Regions from separate parts of the Homo sapiens genome. Here region 2 is linked to region 1. The links are contacts of gene promoters, found by promoter capture Hi-C in human tissues and cell types (Jung and others, 2019). All regions are on one chromosome and are shown on one strand. Each heading gives the region's core, a stretch centred on a gene start or on the middle of the fragment in contact. The rest is flanking DNA. Distances are from core to core; before and after follow the strand shown. Region 1 holds the start of IL1RL2 (interleukin 1 receptor like 2). Region 2 has its middle 35 kb from the start of IL1R1.

The links. Contacts are between HindIII fragments. The study calls those that stand out against the background at their distance.
Region 2: a fragment that was not itself captured here is called in contact with the fragment with the promoter of IL1RL2 in region 1 in 6 of the 25 tissues and cell types used here (H1 embryonic stem cells, IMR-90 fibroblasts, aorta and 3 more).

Annotation. Positions count from the first base shown.
Region 1 is chr2:102,183,438-102,188,652 of GRCh38, forward strand. IL1RL2 (interleukin 1 receptor like 2) reads left to right here and starts at 3,586. Exons shown (of 12, transcript NM_003854.4): 1 at 3,586-3,649; 2 at 4,419-4,488. The coding sequence starts at 4,431. RefSeq lists an enhancer at 3,242-3,771. The HindIII fragment of the contact is 7,879 bases long and covers 824-5,215 here.
Region 2 is chr2:102,104,808-102,110,022 of GRCh38, forward strand. It overlaps a transcript of IL1R1 not described here. Among named protein-coding and RNA genes, the nearest start is that of IL1R1, 35 kb to the right of the region's middle. The HindIII fragment of the contact is 6,577 bases long and covers 1-5,215 here.

The sequences.
Region 1 (5,215 bases), core at 2,336-4,835:
TCCATAGAGACATTTGCTCCTCTTACACAAGCAGTGTGTGGCACTGAGAATACTCATTATTAAATCATTGCTAATTTGATAGACAAAAAAAGGTTATCCTTTGCCAGTTAACTATTAACATGGTTGAATGTTTCACTTAACAATTACAATTGGAGGCGGGTGGATCACTTGAAGCCAGGAGTTTGAGACCAGCCTGGTCAACATGGTGAAATGAAACCCCATCTCTACCAAAAACACACAAAAAGCAAAAAACAAAAATTACCTGGGCGTGGTGGTGCACGCCTGTAATCCCAGCTACTAAGGAGGCTGAGGCAGCTGAGGCTATTGGCTTCGTCTGTGTTATTTTATTTTGGAATTTACAAACTGTTTCCTCCTTTGTGATTTTGCACTAGCTGTTTCCTACTTTGGGGAAAGCCCTTCTCGCAGACCTCCACATGCTGGACTCCTTGCCTTGACAAGGGCCTCTGCTGCACCATAGTCCCTTCTGAAGGGAGGACTTCCCCAACACCCTCTCCATCACTTCATCATAATTGCTTTCAGGGTTCTCACCAGCCTGAAATCATCCTTCAAAATTTTCTTATTTACTTGACACTAGAATGACTGTAAACTCTAAGAGGGTCTGTCTTCTGTACAGCTGTATTTCTGGCACTCAGAATATCACCTGGAACACAGTGGGAACTGTATAAATATTTGATGAGGGACTGAGCGAACTAATGAATGGAGCTCGAGGGAGTGAGTGATTAAGCCCAGGACTGCAGGAAACCAAGTGCTTTAAGGACCTCCTTCCAGTCTCCCTGGCTGCTTCTTCCATTTCTAGAAGTCCATTTCATCCCAACAATAGCAGTCTGCTACAGAAATGCTGCTATATATTCCCAAGCCTCATAGAGGGGAAATATGAGAACTTAAGGGCCTTAAAGGTATAAAGATCTTGGTGGAGCCCCAAACACCCACCCCAGCCTAATACTGGGTTTTGGAAAGTTTAATTGTTGCGTGTGAATATATTTCTGTTTCATTCTCATTGGGAAACATTATCTGTGGGATATGGCCAATGGGAAATAATCAGATATTTAGTTAGAACAAATAAAAGGTAGTATGCATCATGTAAAATATAAATTTGTATATGAAATCTTTAATCCAAATTGTTGCCCTCCTACCCTTCTGAATAGCCGTCATATCCTAGTCTGAGGGTCAAATAGACTGAAGGTAAAATTCAACCAAGCAGAATTCTGTAATGCTTTCATCACACACAGATTTGTTGCTTTTTGCCTGCTCTCAGAATGAAGTGATGAATCTCTAGAGGAAGTTGATTTACTTCATAAAAAAAAAAACCAACTGAAAATTATTTCCTATGGCCACTGACTAATGCTAGAAAACATTAAGAATATTCCCATTGAAAAAATATCTGCAAGTGGGAGAGAATTAGACAAGGAGGGGTTGGTAGGGGGATGGTGATAAGCATCTATTACATATTATACACCCTGTTATGGAGGCTTTACAACTGCCACCTCTGAAAACTGGGCATAACCTCTCAATCTAAATGTATATAAAATAAAATCACAGGATAGCTTTTACATCAGAGCAGCAAAACTGGCAAAATTTAAAAGTCTGACATTACCAAATATTGGTAAGAACATGAAGCAATGAAATTCTTTTCCTCTAAAGGACATAGCTATGGAAAAAAATTAGGGCTTTTCTAATACAATTGAGGATGTACCTACCCAATGATTCTGCAATTCCGTTCACTAAATGGCCTCTGAAATACTCGCACAAAAGGACATTACCAGAATCTTTGCAGCAGCACCGTTTATAAGAGCAAAATATAAATTTGGAAAAACTTAAATGTTCGAAGGAGATGAATACATTTAAGTTTTTTTTTTTCAAGGTAATTGAGAACCTGCAGTAAATATTATGGTTTCCTGTTATTTTTAATTGCTAAGTTTACAATACCCGGAATCAGTTCTGCCTTCAAAGCCAAGTGTTCATTTTCCACGTATCAGGAAACACATTTGGCATAGAGACCATCCCAGGAAGTTAAATTTCAGATTCTCAGAATTAGTAGCAAAGTGCAATGTCAGAAGTGTCCAGTGAGAGGCACTGCAGGGGACTGGGATGGCCTGTCTTAACTTCATACATTTTGGGGCAACAATACCCATTAAACTTGGCATATATACTAGTCCTCAGGCTAAGAAATAAGATAGGACACAAATGCATCTATTCATAAAGTGAAAATGAAAAAAGATAGCATAAAGATTTAGAAATACCTTTCAACACTGCTCATAGAAATAATTCTGAATGCAAATCATATGACTTTTATAAAAATAGTAACACTTTTGTTTTGTTTTGGATGAGGACATAAACGCTGAAGAATATACATATACAGAGGAACCTCGTTTACTGCTGATAGTAGGGGAAATAAATAATAATCTCTATTTATAGCTTAAGAAAGAGGTCCTCAAAGAGTGGGAGCCCTATGGGTCCCTGAGAGACCCTTCAAAAAGATCTGTGAAATCAAAACTATGTTCATCGTAATATTAAGACCTTATATTCCTTTTTTATTCTCATTCTCTCATTAGTGTATGGTGGACCTTTTCAGAAGCTATATGACATATTATATCATGACACTGATTGCAGAAGCAAGTATGAGAATCCAGTCATCTTCTAGTAAGCCAGACATCAAAGAGATCTGCATCTATGTAGAACAATGCCGCTTTTCTCAATAAGCCTGTTTTAGAAAGTAGAGTTATTTTTCATAAATTGTATGATATTTGCGTTAACATGTAATGGGTTTATTGTCACTTAAATAAGAAAGTAAACGTTTAAAAATTCTCCCTTTAACTTCTAATGTAGTAATATTGACAGGCATAACCTACATAGACAAAAGCACTTTGGAATCCTCAATACTTTTTAAGAGTGTAGAAATCTACAAACCACTGACCTTCAGCCTATCACAGGAAGCTTTGCTATTAGCACAATTATTGCATCTCTGCTCCTATGGTTGCTTTTGTCTCACTGTCTCTGATCTTTCAAAGACCGTTGGGAAGAGCTTGACCAGTAATCTATTGAATGGAGATTACATTTTGAACCTTTTCCTACAACTCAGTGCCCTGTGGGATGACTCTGGGGTGTCTCCTGATGGCTAGGGCAACAGGTCCCTGTTGACATCACCTTATCGGGAAGTTTTAGACAGGAACAGTCTTCAGGCTCTGAAGTACTTGAACACCATGGGATTCCTGCCTTACAGAAGTTAATGAGCACGACTCAGGCAGATTCATAATTCTCCTTAGAAGCCATTTGGGATGGCTTCCACTTTGGGGTCATTCCACATAGGCCAATGCAGAGCATGCAGTAACTGCTCAAATAGGATTTGGAAAGGAATGAATAATTCATTTAGACGTTCAACTTGGAATAGACTTAAGCAGACACTCCTGGTGATGAAGGACTTAGATGCCAGAAAATCAGGCTCAAAGACTTTCAAGCCACTTCCTAGTGTGATGTCACATTCCTTCCTACGCTCCACTGGGGAAGGCAGGTCTGCCCCGCCCACGGTGGCGGGGAAATACCTAGGCATGGAAGTGGCATGACAGGGCTCGTGTCCCTGTCATATTTTCCACTCTCCACGAGGTCCTGCGCGCTTCAATCCTGCAGGCAGGTAGACACCGGGCCGGGAGTCTGGCTGAGCCAGGCATGGGTGGGGCCCTGACAGTAGGAGAGGTGTGCAGGAAAAGACGTGGCAACAATGTGTGCCACCGCAGGCCAGGGATCAGGCCCCCCAGGCCGGCCCCCGACCGGCTAGGTGACCATGGGGGAGCCGACTCCGTCTCTGGGTCGAGGAGTGGAGCTCGCGGCTATTTTCAGCTCCAGCGGCTCCCTGCCTTCCTTTCTCCTTTCCCGCTGGCCCTTGCCAGGTAGGCCTGCCCTGGCTGCTCCCCAGTGAGCGGGTGTTTGGGGTTTCTGTTTAGACCGCCAGGCTCGGGTGGATCCCGAGGACACAGGCGCGCAGGGGAGGCTCCGTGCGCCGCGAGCGGGGTTGGGGTCCCACGTCTGGAACCCAGGCCGCAGGCTGCGCTGGGGGGCGCCCTGGCCCTCACGGGGGCTCTGGACACCAGCCTGCTTCGCTGTCAGGTGGCAGAAGCAGCTCCCACGCGGTCCCCACCGCCGCCGCCGCCTACTCCTCGCCCATCCTCCTCTGCGGCGGGGCGAGCTCCCTGCCCTGGATCCTGGTCGGGCGCCCAGACGAAGGAGACAGGGGAAGGGCAGTCTTTGGGGAAACGTGGGGCCAAAGTCGGAGGGCTCCCCAGGAAAAAGGGAAGGTCAGCGGCCTGGGCGGTTGTCTTTGAGATTCCGAGGTCGCCCACGCCGGCGCCTCGGGCCCGCCCTACTGCGTCCTCCCCTCCCACCCTCTTCTCCCTTCCTTGCAGCCCGGTTTGGGGATGTGGTCCTTGCTGCTCTGCGGGTTGTCCATCGCCCTTCCACTGTCTGTCACAGCAGGTACGTTCCGTGTGTCCTCCGTTCCCAGAGGCTGCCCGAGTCCACAGGCTCCTGGCCTGTCATTGGGAGCCCCCGGGGATCGCGTCAGCCCGAGCGCGGCTCCTTCCCCTCCCCAGACCGCCAGGCGGAGTTCCGCGGAAGAGGAAACAGAGAACCAGCTCCACGTGCTCGGATGCTCAGCCCTGAATGTCGCCTTTGAGCTTGGAGGTGACTTCGGGGAGGGGAAGGAGTTAGGCAAATTCCAAGTGAAGACTTGAGTAACAATGCTCAAATGGAATTACTACAGGCTATTTTATAAGATAAAGCGTTATTTTATGACACAAGGTGAAAGCAAGGAAACCGTCAATAGAACAAATTTCTTCTAAGAAATTTGGTATGGCCGGGCGCAGTGGCTCATGCCTGTAATCCCAGTACTTTGGGAGGCCAAGGCGGGCGGATCACGAGGTCAGGAGATCTAGACCATCCTGGCTAACACGGTGAAACCCCGTCTCTACTAAAAATACATTAAAAAAATTAGCCGGGCGCGGTGGCGGGCGCCTGTAGTCCCAGCTACTCAAGAGGCTGAGGCAGGAGAATGGCGTGAACTCGGGAGGCGGAGCTTGCAGTGAGCCGAGATTGAGCCTCTGCACTCCAGCCTGGGCGACAGAGAGAGACTCCGTCTCAAAAAAAAAAAAAAAAGGAAATTTGGTAGAAATGAACTTTAAAAGTGAACCAAATTTTTTTTCTT
Region 2 (5,215 bases), core at 2,036-4,535, 79 kb before region 1:
CGACATTCTCCACCTCCTGGGAGGCCAGCCATTCCCAAATGCCCCAAGGATGAAGAACGGAGACGGTAAGATGATTAATTGCACTGCAGGTTTTTTGTTTCTGTATTTTTTTCCCTCCTTTTTTTGGGTTTACTTACACATTAATGAGGTATTTAGGAAAGACAAATGGAATCTGATAAAAGGTAACGTTATATTGTTTGTCGAAACAACATTTTAAGGATTTCTTGAAGTTATATGGCTCTGTAGGCATGTTTCACTTTAAGATGTGTTTCTGAGTCATATTAGGAGAACGACTGTGATTATCTATGGAAGATTAACTATGAAACATATGGGAAATATACTTTATAACTGTATATTACTTATAAACCATGAATAGTTACATGACTTTTGGTATGTGGTGAGAGATGTTAAGTGAAAGGTGTTGTAAATGAAGTCGTTTTATAAGACTGTTGTTACTGTAAGAATTGAGACTTATTTTATCACTTCCCATTAAGCTTCTACAGTGTTAGAGAGGCATAACCCAATGTTGACTGAAGGTGCTATGTTTTCTTTTTAATTTATTTTTTATTTTGTTTGAGATGGGGTCTCACTTTGTCACCCAGACTGGAGTACAATGGCATGATCTTGGCTCACTGCAACCTCCGCCTCCCAGGTTCAAGCGATTCTCCTGCCTCAGCCTCCCGAGTAGCTGGGACTATAGGCGCCTGCCACCATGCCCTGCTAACTTTTTGTATTTTTAGTAGAGATGGGTTTTCACTGTGTTAGCCAGGATGGTCTCGATCTCCTGACCTCGTGATCCACCTGCCTGGGCCTCCCAAAGTGCTGGGATTACAGGCATGAGCCACCACGCCTGGCCTGAATGTGCTATGTTATTAATGGCAGCCTCTATTGGTTTCATTTAAAGGTATAATGCATTGTATTGGCAAAACTTGTACACGCTTTCTTCAATAAGGACCTCAAAGGTAATCTTAAAAGCCTGATCATATTTTTCTCCCCCCTTCAGAAGCTTTGCCAATGTTGCACCTATAGCTATAGAGAAGACCATGCACTCTCAGAGGGGATTATAAACATTGCCTTGCATTTTTATCCTTGATCTCCATAATTTATCCTTGATCTCCATTTATCCTTGATCCTCATAATTCCTACTGATAGTGTTGTTGTGCATAAGAATGAGAAAATGGGACTGAACCTGAAAGATTAAGGAAAGAAAATAACAAAACAAAAAGGAAAACCTAATGAAGCTTATCATTCAATTCAATTTATAACTCCTTATTGCTCATGCAAAATGTGAATTTTTCGCTGTGTTGGTGAGGGTGTGAGGAGTGGATGGTGGGGAAGGATGCTTCAAAAAATACAGCTAAGGACCAACTGGTTTGGTGAGTCATGGCATTCACCCATGAGACAGCTGGAGAACAGTGACGTGTGTGTCTCTGTGTGTGTGTGTCTGTGTGTGTGTGCATTTGATGCCAGAGATTGGTGTTTACTATAAATGTGTTGATCTGTTAGGAAAAGGAAGAAGACAAAGTTGTCCAGAAAGAGCCAAGAAAACTTCTTGAGATGAATTTGATCTGCCTAATGGTAGTGATGAGTTTAAAAAGATTCTTATGGCCTTTCCTAACACTACATGCTATTGTTAATCATTGAACTGACAAACCCCGTTGAGCACAAGACTGTTAGTTTACTTAGGAGGAAAACTTGGCAGGAACGGTCAAAGAATAGCGAGGGTATACTTCTAAAATACGTCCTTGGAACATTTACACAAACAGCACAAGCTCATTGTCAAGAATAAAATTTTAAAAAATACATAGAGATAATAGTAAAAGACGAGAAGTAAAAACACACCACTGTGAGGTAAACACTGTTAACATTTTGGTAGGTGTATTTGTCTCTGAGTACATTTACATTTTGAAGAAATATATTTGTACTCTACATGCTTTTCGGTTATCTGCTTTTACCTCACAGCGATGGAGCATCTTGTTATGAGAATGAGTTTTCTTTTACAAAAGCTTTTCCATTTCATTGCATAGATAGTTTATTAAATCCTGTTGGCAGGTAGTTGATTGTTTTTCTCTTATTAACAGTACTACAACTATGTTCTTCTCTTATTAACAGTACTACAACTAACACCCTTGTAGCTAAACCTTTGCATCTCCTTGATGCAAAGGTTATCTCAACGAGTTTTCCTTGAGATAAATCCCCAGAGGTAGAATGGTAGGGGTCAAAGGGCATGGGCATTTTAAAAACTCTAGATCCCTGCTGCTAAATTAATCCTAGGAAAGTTTAATTAATTTATGTGCCCACCAGCACTGTATGAACATTTTCCAACTCTCTCATCAGCATTGGGTTTTATAATTTTTTGAAAAGTGTGCTACTCTGCATGCACACGTATGTTTATTGTGGCACTATTCACAATAGCAAAGACTTGGAACCAACCCAAATGTCCATCAGTGATAGACTGGATTAAGAAAATGTGGCACATATACACCATGGAATACTATGCAGCCATGAAAAAGGATGAGTTCATGTCCTTTGTAGGGACATGGATGAAGCTGGAAACCATCATCCTGAGCAAACTATCACAAGGACAGAAAACCAAACGCCGCATATTCTCACTCGTAGGTGGGAATTGAACAATGAGAACACTTGGACACAGGGTGGGGAACATCACACACCGGGGCCTGTTGTGGGGTGGGAGGAGGGGGGAGGGATAACATTAGGAGACATACCTAATGTAAATGACAAGTTAACAGGTGCAGCACACCAACATGGCACATGTATACATATGTAACAAACCTGCATGTTGTGCACATGTACCCTAGAACTTAAAGTATCACAATAAATAAAAGAAAAGTGTGCTACTCTGATAATAGGCAAAGGTATATTTTGTTGTCTTAATTTACCTTAAGGAAACCCTTTGCAAAATCTGCTGGTTTCCAGTTCTGCCCCTTTGGGTTCAGCCTCTCGTCTTTTTTGGTTACTCATTGCCAAAGCAGTCACCTCTTACAGTAACTTCTGCCAACCTAATTTCTGAGGACTTTGACCTCTTTTGATGTCTCTCAGAAAGTCTGCTGAGAGAGCGAGAGAACTGGATGCTTTTGCTCTGAATTTTTACCGATTGAGTAACCTGGGGTAAACCTCAGTCTTTGTGATTTTGTCTCCTTTTTAGCTATAAAATTTAGACAGAAGGCCTGTGCTAGCCACCTCACAAGATTGTACTGGGAATATAAAGAGGCAAGATAGAGGCAAGCTTTTTGAATAGAGGAAAAGCAAAAATGCAAAATGGTATTATTATTATTGTTGTTACTCTAAAGTTTAGTGATAAATCTAACCTTCTAAAATATATAGTTTCTGGAGAGCTGCATGCTGAAATTTTGTCGTCTTCTAATTCTAAACTTGGGAAGTGTGTGTGTGTGTGTATGTATGTGTGTGTGTGTGGGGGGGGGTGTGTATAACATATTTCTATGCTTCTTGGTTCTTAGATTCAGTAGCAGTGTTTAGTGTGTTACAGCAGTGCATGGATACATTTTAGATTAAAAAGATTTCCATTTTGTTGCTTATTTATTCCATTCTTGTACAGGAAAACCAGCCATCCTCCTCCTATTGCATTCTCATCATCCATGGGCTTTGCTCAGCTCCCCAGTGGACTGAGAGCTCCTCAAAGACGGGGTCCGGTTTCATGTGTATACCTCTCTCCAGGGCCTGCTTTGGGGTCTGACACCCAGAGGGCGGATCAATCAATGTTTCTCAAATGAGTCAATGTAAGGGAGGTAGAAAAATATTTACCCAGTTCTGTGGAGAAAAGAATATTCCAAAAAGGCACCCCAGAAGATTAAAAAAAAACCTAAATGGAGCTTTTCTAGGGGCAACTGGTTATTTATTTCGTTTAGTTTGGGTGAGTCTCAGTTTCTATTGAGTAAATATTTAAAGCTCTGAAAGGATATTAAACAAATGAATGCAAGCCAAGGATAGGACCAGGAAAATGGAGAACCCTGTCTTTATAGGTGCAAGTGTCATGGATTTGGCATGAATATCAAAAACTTTAAGGAGGCATCGATTTTCACTCTGACTCCCAGCTCAGTGCTGGGCTGCAAAAATCAGGACCAAACTGACATTTAGTAATGGTTTGAACTTGGTACTGAATAATAATAATAATAATAATAATAATAATAATAATAATAATAAAAGCTAATATGTAATACAGCACTTGCTAGGTAGGAGACCTGGTTTTAGGTACCGCTCATATAAAATAATCAGTACTATTATTTTATTTTGCAGATTAAGAAACGGAAGCACAGAGAGTGATTTGCTAGGGTTATACCAGTAGTTATTGCAGAGCTGGAATTATGACGCAGACAGGCTCACTCTGGAGCCTGTGGGTCAGTGAGGGTAGGTCGGACTGAACTTTGGAGACAATGTCTCATGGTTTTAGGCCACTGGTGATGTTTGTGCTGTTTATTTGGGTATATGACTACCATTTATTGAGTCACCTACTAAAGGAACATGCACTCTTCTGGGTTCTTTAAGTATAATATCTTGAATCTTTCTCGCAACCTTGAAACATTATTCCAACTCTAGGTCCAGACAAGCTGAGACCCTGAGAAGTTCAGTAAGTTTCCCAAAGCTGCAGGCTAGTGAGGAGAGATCCATCAGCCTGCACCAAGTCTGTCTGCCTTCTGAGTCCATGTGCCACACTGGCCTGGACAACTGAGTGCTGATGTATTTGGTTCTTCCATCCAAAGGTGCCAAGAGTCCAGTTCTACTGCATTTGGAGGTGTTGAACCTGGAAAACTCAGCCACAACAACCCCTCAACTTGGGGATCAGGCAGGGCTCAGCCTCAGCTTCTCTGAACCCACATGGGCCAATGTGAAATGGATTTGATTTTTCAGACCAGATCCTCCCTGGCAGGACCATCCAATTTATCACACCAACCTAGACTCGATGGGCGTTTAAAATATTGAGAGATATTTCCTTATATTTCCTCTCTATTGACCCCCCAAATCTGCACCAAGGAACTCCAGCGAATGAGATGGAGTATGGTGAGTGCTAGCTTGGGGGCCAAGGGCGGCTTCGTTTCTCCTGGGCGACTTATCTCCCTTTTCTTTGTTTAGTGTTTCCAGTTATAACATGAGGGAAAAGACTATAATTTAAAATGGAATTTTACTTTTTTTGGTTAAACTTTTCCATATGATTTTGAAACTCTTTAAATTTTTTTGA